Linked DNA regions of Homo sapiens: region 1 is linked to region 2. The links are contacts of gene promoters, found by promoter capture Hi-C in blood cells and fetal thymus (Javierre and others, 2016). All regions are on one chromosome and are shown on one strand. The core of a region is centred on a gene start or on the middle of the fragment in contact, and the rest is flanking DNA. Distances in the headings are between cores, read along the strand shown. Region 1 holds the start of SRPX (sushi repeat containing protein X-linked). Region 2 holds the start of LANCL3 (LanC like family member 3).

Evidence for each region. The method cuts DNA at HindIII sites, captures the fragments that hold promoters and counts their contacts. A CHiCAGO score of 5 or more calls a contact.
Region 1: a contact is called between the fragment with the promoter of SRPX here and the fragment with the promoter of LANCL3 in region 2, in 8 of 17 cell types (monocytes, M1 macrophages, M2 macrophages and 5 more). The highest score is 9.8, in monocytes.

What each region holds. Positions count from the first base shown.
Region 1 is chrX:38,219,308-38,223,095 of GRCh38, forward strand. SRPX (sushi repeat containing protein X-linked) reads right to left here and starts at 1,564. Exons shown (of 10, transcript NM_006307.5): 1 at 1,389-1,564. The coding sequence starts at 1,485. It overlaps LOC124905176 (a long non-coding RNA gene), which reads left to right and starts at 1,601. Exons shown (of 2, transcript XR_007068212.1): 1 at 1,601-2,492. The HindIII fragment of the contact is 8,549 bases long and covers 1-3,788 here.
Region 2 is chrX:37,569,900-37,573,736 of GRCh38, forward strand. LANCL3 (LanC like family member 3) reads left to right here and starts at 1,762. Exons shown (of 5, transcript NM_001170331.2): 1 at 1,762-2,544. The coding sequence starts at 1,972. The HindIII fragment of the contact is 8,836 bases long and covers 1-3,837 here.

The DNA.
Region 1 (3,788 bases), core at 314-2,813, 650 kb after region 2:
AAAAGCTACCTCTAGCTTCTCACCTTATTTGCCCGCTCCCAGAAAGCTGCTTCTGGGACGCTTAATGACTTCCTCTTCCCCTACAGGTTCATTTTAACCTGATTCCTGCTAAAGGGGGTGGGAGAGGAGGTATTAACACACCATGGGAATAACAGTTGCCTGGCAGTAAGGATAAAATTTCCTTTCCACTTTACCCTGAATCAGTTCCTACAAAGCAGCTTAAAACTTAAGAGTCAGCTCAAAACACAAATGTTCCTGTTTATTAATTTACAAATTTGTTCTATTCATTCATTTATTTAGGTGCGTGCAGAGAATTTCCCGCAGCCATCCCTACATCTCCCAAGCACACTGCTAGAAAGATGGGCATCCTCTATCCTTCTACCAGAACTCAGTAGGTTCATTTCTCATACCCTAGATTTAAGCTGCCCACGGTGTTGAACGCAGAGCCAAATATTTGCACGCCCTATAGCCGACGTCACCCACTTTCCCATTAACACTAAATTAAAACGCATCCATGGATTTCCTCTCCATTCCGAGGCAACAGGAGTGCATGGCACATTGCCCTACTCCCCTGAAGCTCTTCGCTAACCTAAGACTCCAGGGTGAGGAAGTTAGCTGGAGCTTTTTAAAGTGCATCTCCAAAGAGAATTTTGCTCACACCATGAGAGCCCCCAAGAAACACCAGGGCCCCCTTAGATGCCGGAGACCACGCCCTCCAGGAATAAGCCGCACCCTCTGCCCAGCAGATCCTTGCGCGAGTAGCCCTCTTTCCCTGGGGCTAATCAAGTGCATGCCACATGTCACCACTCTCAGCTGGCAATTCTTCCTCAGAGGCGCAGACTTTCTCGGAATCCCCAGCAGGGGGGGTTAAGAGATTCAGGGGAGGCCCCGCCCGTGCCTTCCACAAAAGTCGCTTTACCGTGGCTCGTGTCCTGCGGCCCCAAGGGGGTAGCCTGGGACGTGTAGTGGGAGGGCATAGAGGCTCCTTCCAGGACAAGCTGCCAGCCTCCAGTGGGCAACCATGTGAGAGGCAAAATTCTGGGGGTGAGAAAGTAGCAAACTAGTCTGCGGCCAAACTTTCTCTGTGGAGCCTCCTACACCGAAAAGGGTTTGATTGGAACTCTGGAAGCCCGGACGCAGAAGGTGCTAGGGCTCCCGTCGCCGCGAGGGCGCCCCGCGCCTGGAGATGGGATGGTCAGTTCTTCCCGGCGCGTGCCCAGACACCAGCCCCGATCCGCATCATCCCCACCCTCGGGCTGCGAAAGAGGAGTTCTGCGCAAACAAAGGGCGCCCCCGGCACCTCCCTCTATCCCGAGCGAAGGGTCCCAACGGCGACTCCGGGGGTCTTTGGTGCCCAGCTGAGGAGGCAGCCACGCCTCCGATCCTACCTGGGAAGCTGCGGCTGGGCGGGACGCGCAGCAGCAGCAGCAGCAGCAGAGGCGGCAGCAGCAGCAGCAGCGCGGGCCGATGTGCGGGGCTCCCCATGGCGAGCGGGCGCTTAGCTCGCCTCGGCAGCGCAGCGCGCTTCCCGGGGGCGGCAGGAGACCGAAGAGACCAAGGGACTGCGTGCTAGCGGGCGGGCGAAGGCCGGGCTGGAAAACTCCTCCTCTCGCCTCTTTCCCTCCCTCCTTCCTGCCTGGGGCCTGCCCTCCTTTCTCCGCCCCCCCTGGAACACTGCGCGGTTCGGGGCTCTGACCCACCCACCTCCTCCTTTTGTGCCAGCGCTTTTTCTGGCCAGAGAGCGCTGGAGACAAGCCCCAGCAGAGCGAAATATCCTGAAGTAGCTTTCTTTGCCCCAATTTGCGCGCCCCCTCACCCGGAATACACACACGGTATTCAATACAACCGCCTCGAACATCCCAGACGTCTAGAAGGATACCATCTGTGCAGAAAGCTGCGTGAGTCACACGGAAACAGAAGGGGCAACCGAGGGGATTCAGAGTGGCCCACTGCGGCCGGATACTATGGCCATGTTCTCTGTTTTGATCCTCACGACCATGCCCCAAGTTCGCTATTACCATGTCCACTTTCTCCAATAAGACACCGACGCTTAGAAACTTGCCCAGATTCACCCCCGTTACTGGCAGAGCAGGGACTGGAACTTAGGTGTGTAGTTCTGCCGACGTCAAAGTCCATACTACAGATTTTTTGTTAGTTTGTTTCTCTTTTGCAAAGGAATAAATCAAGGACTGGACCGGGTGCGTGCCTGCTCTGCTGCGGTTTAGGATGGGGCTTGAGGTTCTCCTTCCAGGATCAGCTGATGGGAGAGCACAAGGCACAGAAAGTTCTCTGTCTCACCCACAGCCATGGGGATCCAGCTGTAGGTTCCTGCAGCCAGATTTCCTCATTTCCTGGGTTGTTCTCAACCACCCCAAAGATACCACGACCAGACTGGAGCCTCTTCCCTGTGGCTTGGCATCGCTGGATCCTGGCATCAGGACAGGGTTTCTAGGCTGCCCGCAGGACGGATCTGGTTTCTTTGAGGCATTTGAGTAAGCCTCTCATAGTTTTGTTTGTTTGTTTGTTGTTTTGGTTGTTTAGTTCTTGTTAAATCAGTAAGGCAATACGTTGCCCCTTTGCTGTCTCAGAAAGATCTTAGCTAAGGCAAATTTTAGTTGGAGTTGCTGCATTAGGTTGTGCAGTTTGGGCACTGTACAAAGGCATCCAGAGGAAGGGGCAAGTGGGAGCCAAAATCCAAATGCCTTTGGGTTCAGGGAGCTTTGCGTCTTGGCAGGGGCCACATCCACTAGAAGGGCATCTTTCTCTCTGCCACAGTAGTCTGGTCTGATAGCTAGGCTAAGAGCCCTGGGGGCACTCACCTAGAAGTTCTGAATTTGTTTATCCAGAAGGAGTGCCATTTCCCAATTCTCACAAAAGCCCCAGACTTGAACGTCCATCTTACCCTCTCTAGCACTTGGGGGGACTTCGCTCCATCTCCTGTGGGTTTCTCCACTGCTGCTACCTCTTCAGGGAACCAACAACCCTTAAATAACCCCCTAGTCGCAAGGAAATGGGGGAGGTCAGTCTATTCTGTGGCCTCCATCAGACCAGACTTTCCAGGGAGTCATTCTCAACCTTGTTTATGTGGGTCACCTGGGGAGCTTCATGAAAATACCATATCCAGGCTCTACCTCACACTAATAAAATCAGAATCTTTAGGAATGTGACCTGGAGTTTGACCAGATGCATATTTTTGTCTCTCCCCAATCCGCTAAGCTCCACGGTATAAGTTTTAGTATAGGATAAAAATTCTAGACCAGGAGTTTCTCAACTTGGGCACTATTGATATTTGGGGCTAGATGATTCTTTCTTGGGGAGGGGGACTGCCTTGCACGTTGAGAGATGCATCGATGGCCTCTATGCAACAGATACCACTAGCAATCCCCCTTTCCCCAGTTATGGCAGCCAAAAAAATGTCTCCAGACATTGCCAAATGTCCCCCAGGGGAAAAATGCCCCCAATAGAGAACTACTTCTTTAGGTCTGTAAACAAGGGTTAATGTGCACCCCAAATTCCAGGTCCAGGATAGCCTGGCCAGCAGCCTTCCTTTCCTATGTCACCTCTGAAGCAATGTGTCTTCACCACAACCAGTATACATTCTATTACTGGGCTGAGAAGGAACTTCTAGCTCACTTCTATCCACTGATTCTGGCTGGATTACAAGAAACACCACACTTACTGTTGACTTGCTCTCTGGCCTTTGAATGTCCTCACCACAAAGAAAGAAATCAGAAATGGATGAGGTGATGGTCACGCAAAATACTGACTTGACGCTTGGTGCAGTGGCT
Region 2 (3,837 bases), core at 512-3,011:
AGCCAGTTAGCAGATCCCTGTTGTTGTTGCTGGCGCTACCTCTAGGCTGGAGTGTTTCGAAGAATAATCAGAGTCAGAATTAATAGAGTTGCCTCTAGATTCATGACAAGGGTGAGTGAGGTGTGGAGGAATGAAGTGGAATAAGGCTTCATTTCTGCTGGTAAAGGCTTTATTTTATGTTTCCTTGTCTGAGGGGACAAAAATCACCTCTAATGTCTGTTATGGTTGAGGGATGAGGAAGGAAGTCTCAAGGAGAAACTCAACATTCCTGTTGCTTCTTTGATGCCTTTTCCTCCTTTAACATATCAAGCTCCCTGCCTAAAAGTGGACTTTTATCATTATTATTATTATTAAAAATAAACCTGTTTTGGCAGCATCAAAGGGGGACGATGGCCATACTGTCCTTGAACTATGTGGATGTGTCAGTCCTGGCAATCATGTTGGCAAACTAAGGTTCTTTCCCAGACTACATCAAGTAAGGGTGGAGGGGCAGGGTATTTAATATCTGCTTCCCAATCATGGTGACATTTAACACTTCTGAGGAAAAAAAAATGCCTCCAAACTGGCCTTTCAAGTAAGTGGAGTAGTTACTCTCCCCACAAAGTATCAGAAACTGTTCTATGAGCCACTTACTCCTTTATGTCTTGCACAGTCCCTATCAAAAGTCAAATACTCCTGGGAGACGTGACCTCTTTAGTCTTCAAGAGTCAACACTTTGGGAAAGGCAGAATTATTTCAAACAGCTGAGCACAAGAAAGGCAACTAGCTTGTGTAATTGTTCATTTTCTGTTTTTTCCTACTGAATTGTAAGCTACAAGGGGTCTAGGACCATGTCTATCTTATTCATCCCTCTATTTCCAGGTTTCAGGACACATAGGAGACCCTCCACAACGCCCTTGGGAAAAAAGCAGAAGAGGACAAACATGGGAAAAGAAGGGAGGGAAGGGGGAGATAAAAAGCCTAATTAAATTCTCACAGAGCGTTTATCCTAATATTAACTAGTTAATGACCTCAAGATATGTATTGAGCTTTTACTATGCACGCATGGCAGGAGGGGCGTGCCCCTTCCTTGCCTTAACCTGGTGTGGTTCTTTGACTTTTTACTCCTGTATACTCGAAGAAAACAATACAAAAATCAAAGCTGGGAAAAAAGTTCCTGTATGGGGTATTTCACCGTTTTAATGCATTAAACATGATGTGCTCAAATGCCCCAGCCTTTGGGATTGAAACATTCATAATGAGAACTCCGAAGCGACCAAGATGAAATACAAACTTCAAAGAAGGCGCCCAGTTTTGTCTTGCTACTCTAGCCTAGTTCAGTGGCGCCTCAAACTTTAATGTGCATGCGAATCACCTGGCAATCTTGCTGAATATTCAGATTTGGAGTCAATAGGTCTGGAGTGAAGCCTGAGATGCTGCGTTTTTAACATGCCCCCGGGTGATGCTGATGCTTCTAACCCAAGGACCACACTTTGAGTATACAAGGGACTGGAGACCATCACCTCTACCGCCAGGTGTGTGTATGCTGAGTCCCAGCGTTCCAGATCAGTGTCCCGCACGTCCTCGGCCTTCTGCCAGTAGGGGAGGAGTCGGGGGCGGAGCGGGAGGAGTGGCGCGGGCCCCGCGTGGGTCCTGCCAGAGATCACCTCGGCCCCTTGAAGAGGCAGCCAAGCTGCGGCGGCGCAGGAGGGGGCGGGTTCAGCGAGGGCGCGGCCTCTGAGGGGGGGCGCAGGACACGCATCCCCCGCGATCGCCCGGGCCACTCGGGAGCCTCGCGGCAGCCCGGCGCCCCACTTGGCCATCCGCTCCTTGCCCGCCTCCTCTTGTCACCTCCCGTCTCATCCTTCTCGCTCCTTCCCCGCCGCATACACCGGCATCCGAGTGCCTCAGAGAGCCGGAGGTGGTGTGCGGGGCTGCAGGGCACGACTTCAAGCGGTCCTCAGCTCCGCACTAGGGGGCACGGGCAACAGCATGGACACCAAGCGCTGCTTCGCCAATCGCTTCGATGACTACCAGGGCAGCCTGCTGGCGGGCCAGTGTGAGGAGGCGGTGGCGCCCTTGGTCACCGCCACCATCGAGCGCATCCTCCAGGAGCTTCCCCCACTCGGGGGCGGCGCGGAGGCCCGAGGGGCGACGGCGGGGGCTAGCGCCTGCCAGGGGGGGCTTTATGGCGGCGTGGCCGGAGTGGCGTATATGCTCTACCACGTCTCGCAGAGCCCGCTTTTCGCCACGGCCCGGGAACGCTACCTGCGCTCGGCTAAGCGCCTCATCGACGCGTGCGCCCGCGCTGAGGAGTGGGGCGAACCGGACGCCGACACCCGCGCCGCCTTCCTGCTCGGGGGCGCGGGCGTGTACGCCGTGGCCACGCTCGTATACCACGCCCTGGGCCGGTCCGACTACGTGCAGCCGCTGGGCAAGTTCCGGGCTCTGTGTGCCGTCTGCGCGCCGGTCTCCTTCCTGGAGTGCGGCTCCGACGAGCTGTTCGTGGGCCGCGCGGGTTACCTGTGTGCCGCGCTGGTGCTCAAGCAGAAACTCGCCCAGGAGGTAAGAGGTAGCCCGGGCCGCGGGAGGGCGCTCGCCGCCTGCCCGGCCTCCTTTCCCCGGACTCCGTGGCTCGGGCAGCACTGTCCCGAGTTGCTCTCCAAGTCTTTGTTACTCTTGGTGTGGTGCTAGCATTTCTTCAGTCCCTTGAGGTCTATCTCCTGCTTTTGTCCCTCTTCTTTCCTGTCGTTTTCAGTCTCTCATTTGTTGAGATTCGGCGTCTCTGCGCTTTGTTCGTGTTTTTACGTGGCATCACTCCAGATGCCTGTTAGCTTTCTGGGGGATGACAGTGTGGCCCTTTCAAGTAAGATGAAAACCTCAGAAATGGAAGGGATTTCCTTTCCTTTGACTCTGCTGTCAAAAGCTGAGGCATCCTCGAATGTTAGAGTGCTAGAAAGTAATGGAACTTTTCGGGGCCGATGTGGAGGTAAGTTGCTTCTGGAGCCCTGGGTCTGTAACCAAGAATAACTGCTCAGCTGTGGGTCTGATGTGTTTACTGTTTTGCTTACTATTCAGTTCAACCCATGGCTCTTATTAAATGCATATCTGATAGGAGTGTCCCCTTTAAAAATACATAAATGTAGACGGAAACGTACCCGGAAATGTACCCCATTGTGGTTGAATGTGCATTATTTCACTTAAAAATATTTGCTTAGGATGGGCAAGACCACAGCTTTCTTGACAGGGCAGCTTTTCTTGATGAATAACTTTACAGTGGCTCCTAAAAGTGAATTGGTTTTCACATACATATTTTTTCCTGGACTCACTTTGAAATCAGCATGTGGTTATTAGAAGAGAATATGCCAGTTCCTGTGGAGTAGGAAAAAGAACAAAACTCTGAAGGATCATAGTGACTAGAACGGAGAGAGAGGCACTTTCATTCATAATCCCCTGGAGCCAACTACTGTTCTAGGGAGGAAGTGACACATTTAACTTGGCTTTATTTAGGTGAGAAAGGCGTTTGAAGAAAAATTAAAGGTATATAGAGTGTTTTAAAAGAGTAATTAACTTAGATCACCTCTACAGAGGCAGACAGGGTTTTTTTTTAATAGCAGGTGAGGTTGATTCAAGTGAGAAAAAAGATTACTAAAGAATGTGCACTGTGTTAGCTGGGCAGCAAAGGTTTATGTCACAAAGTTGTCTTGAAATAGTTTGCTCTGCTTCTGAGTCACTGTTAACTGCCAGCAGTTTTTCAAATGCCCTTCCAGTTGTAGAAAACCTTTTAGAAGGCCACAGAGATATTTACATATCATTTGCATTGCATTTGCATCTGCTCCCCTCACCTTGTAGTCTGGC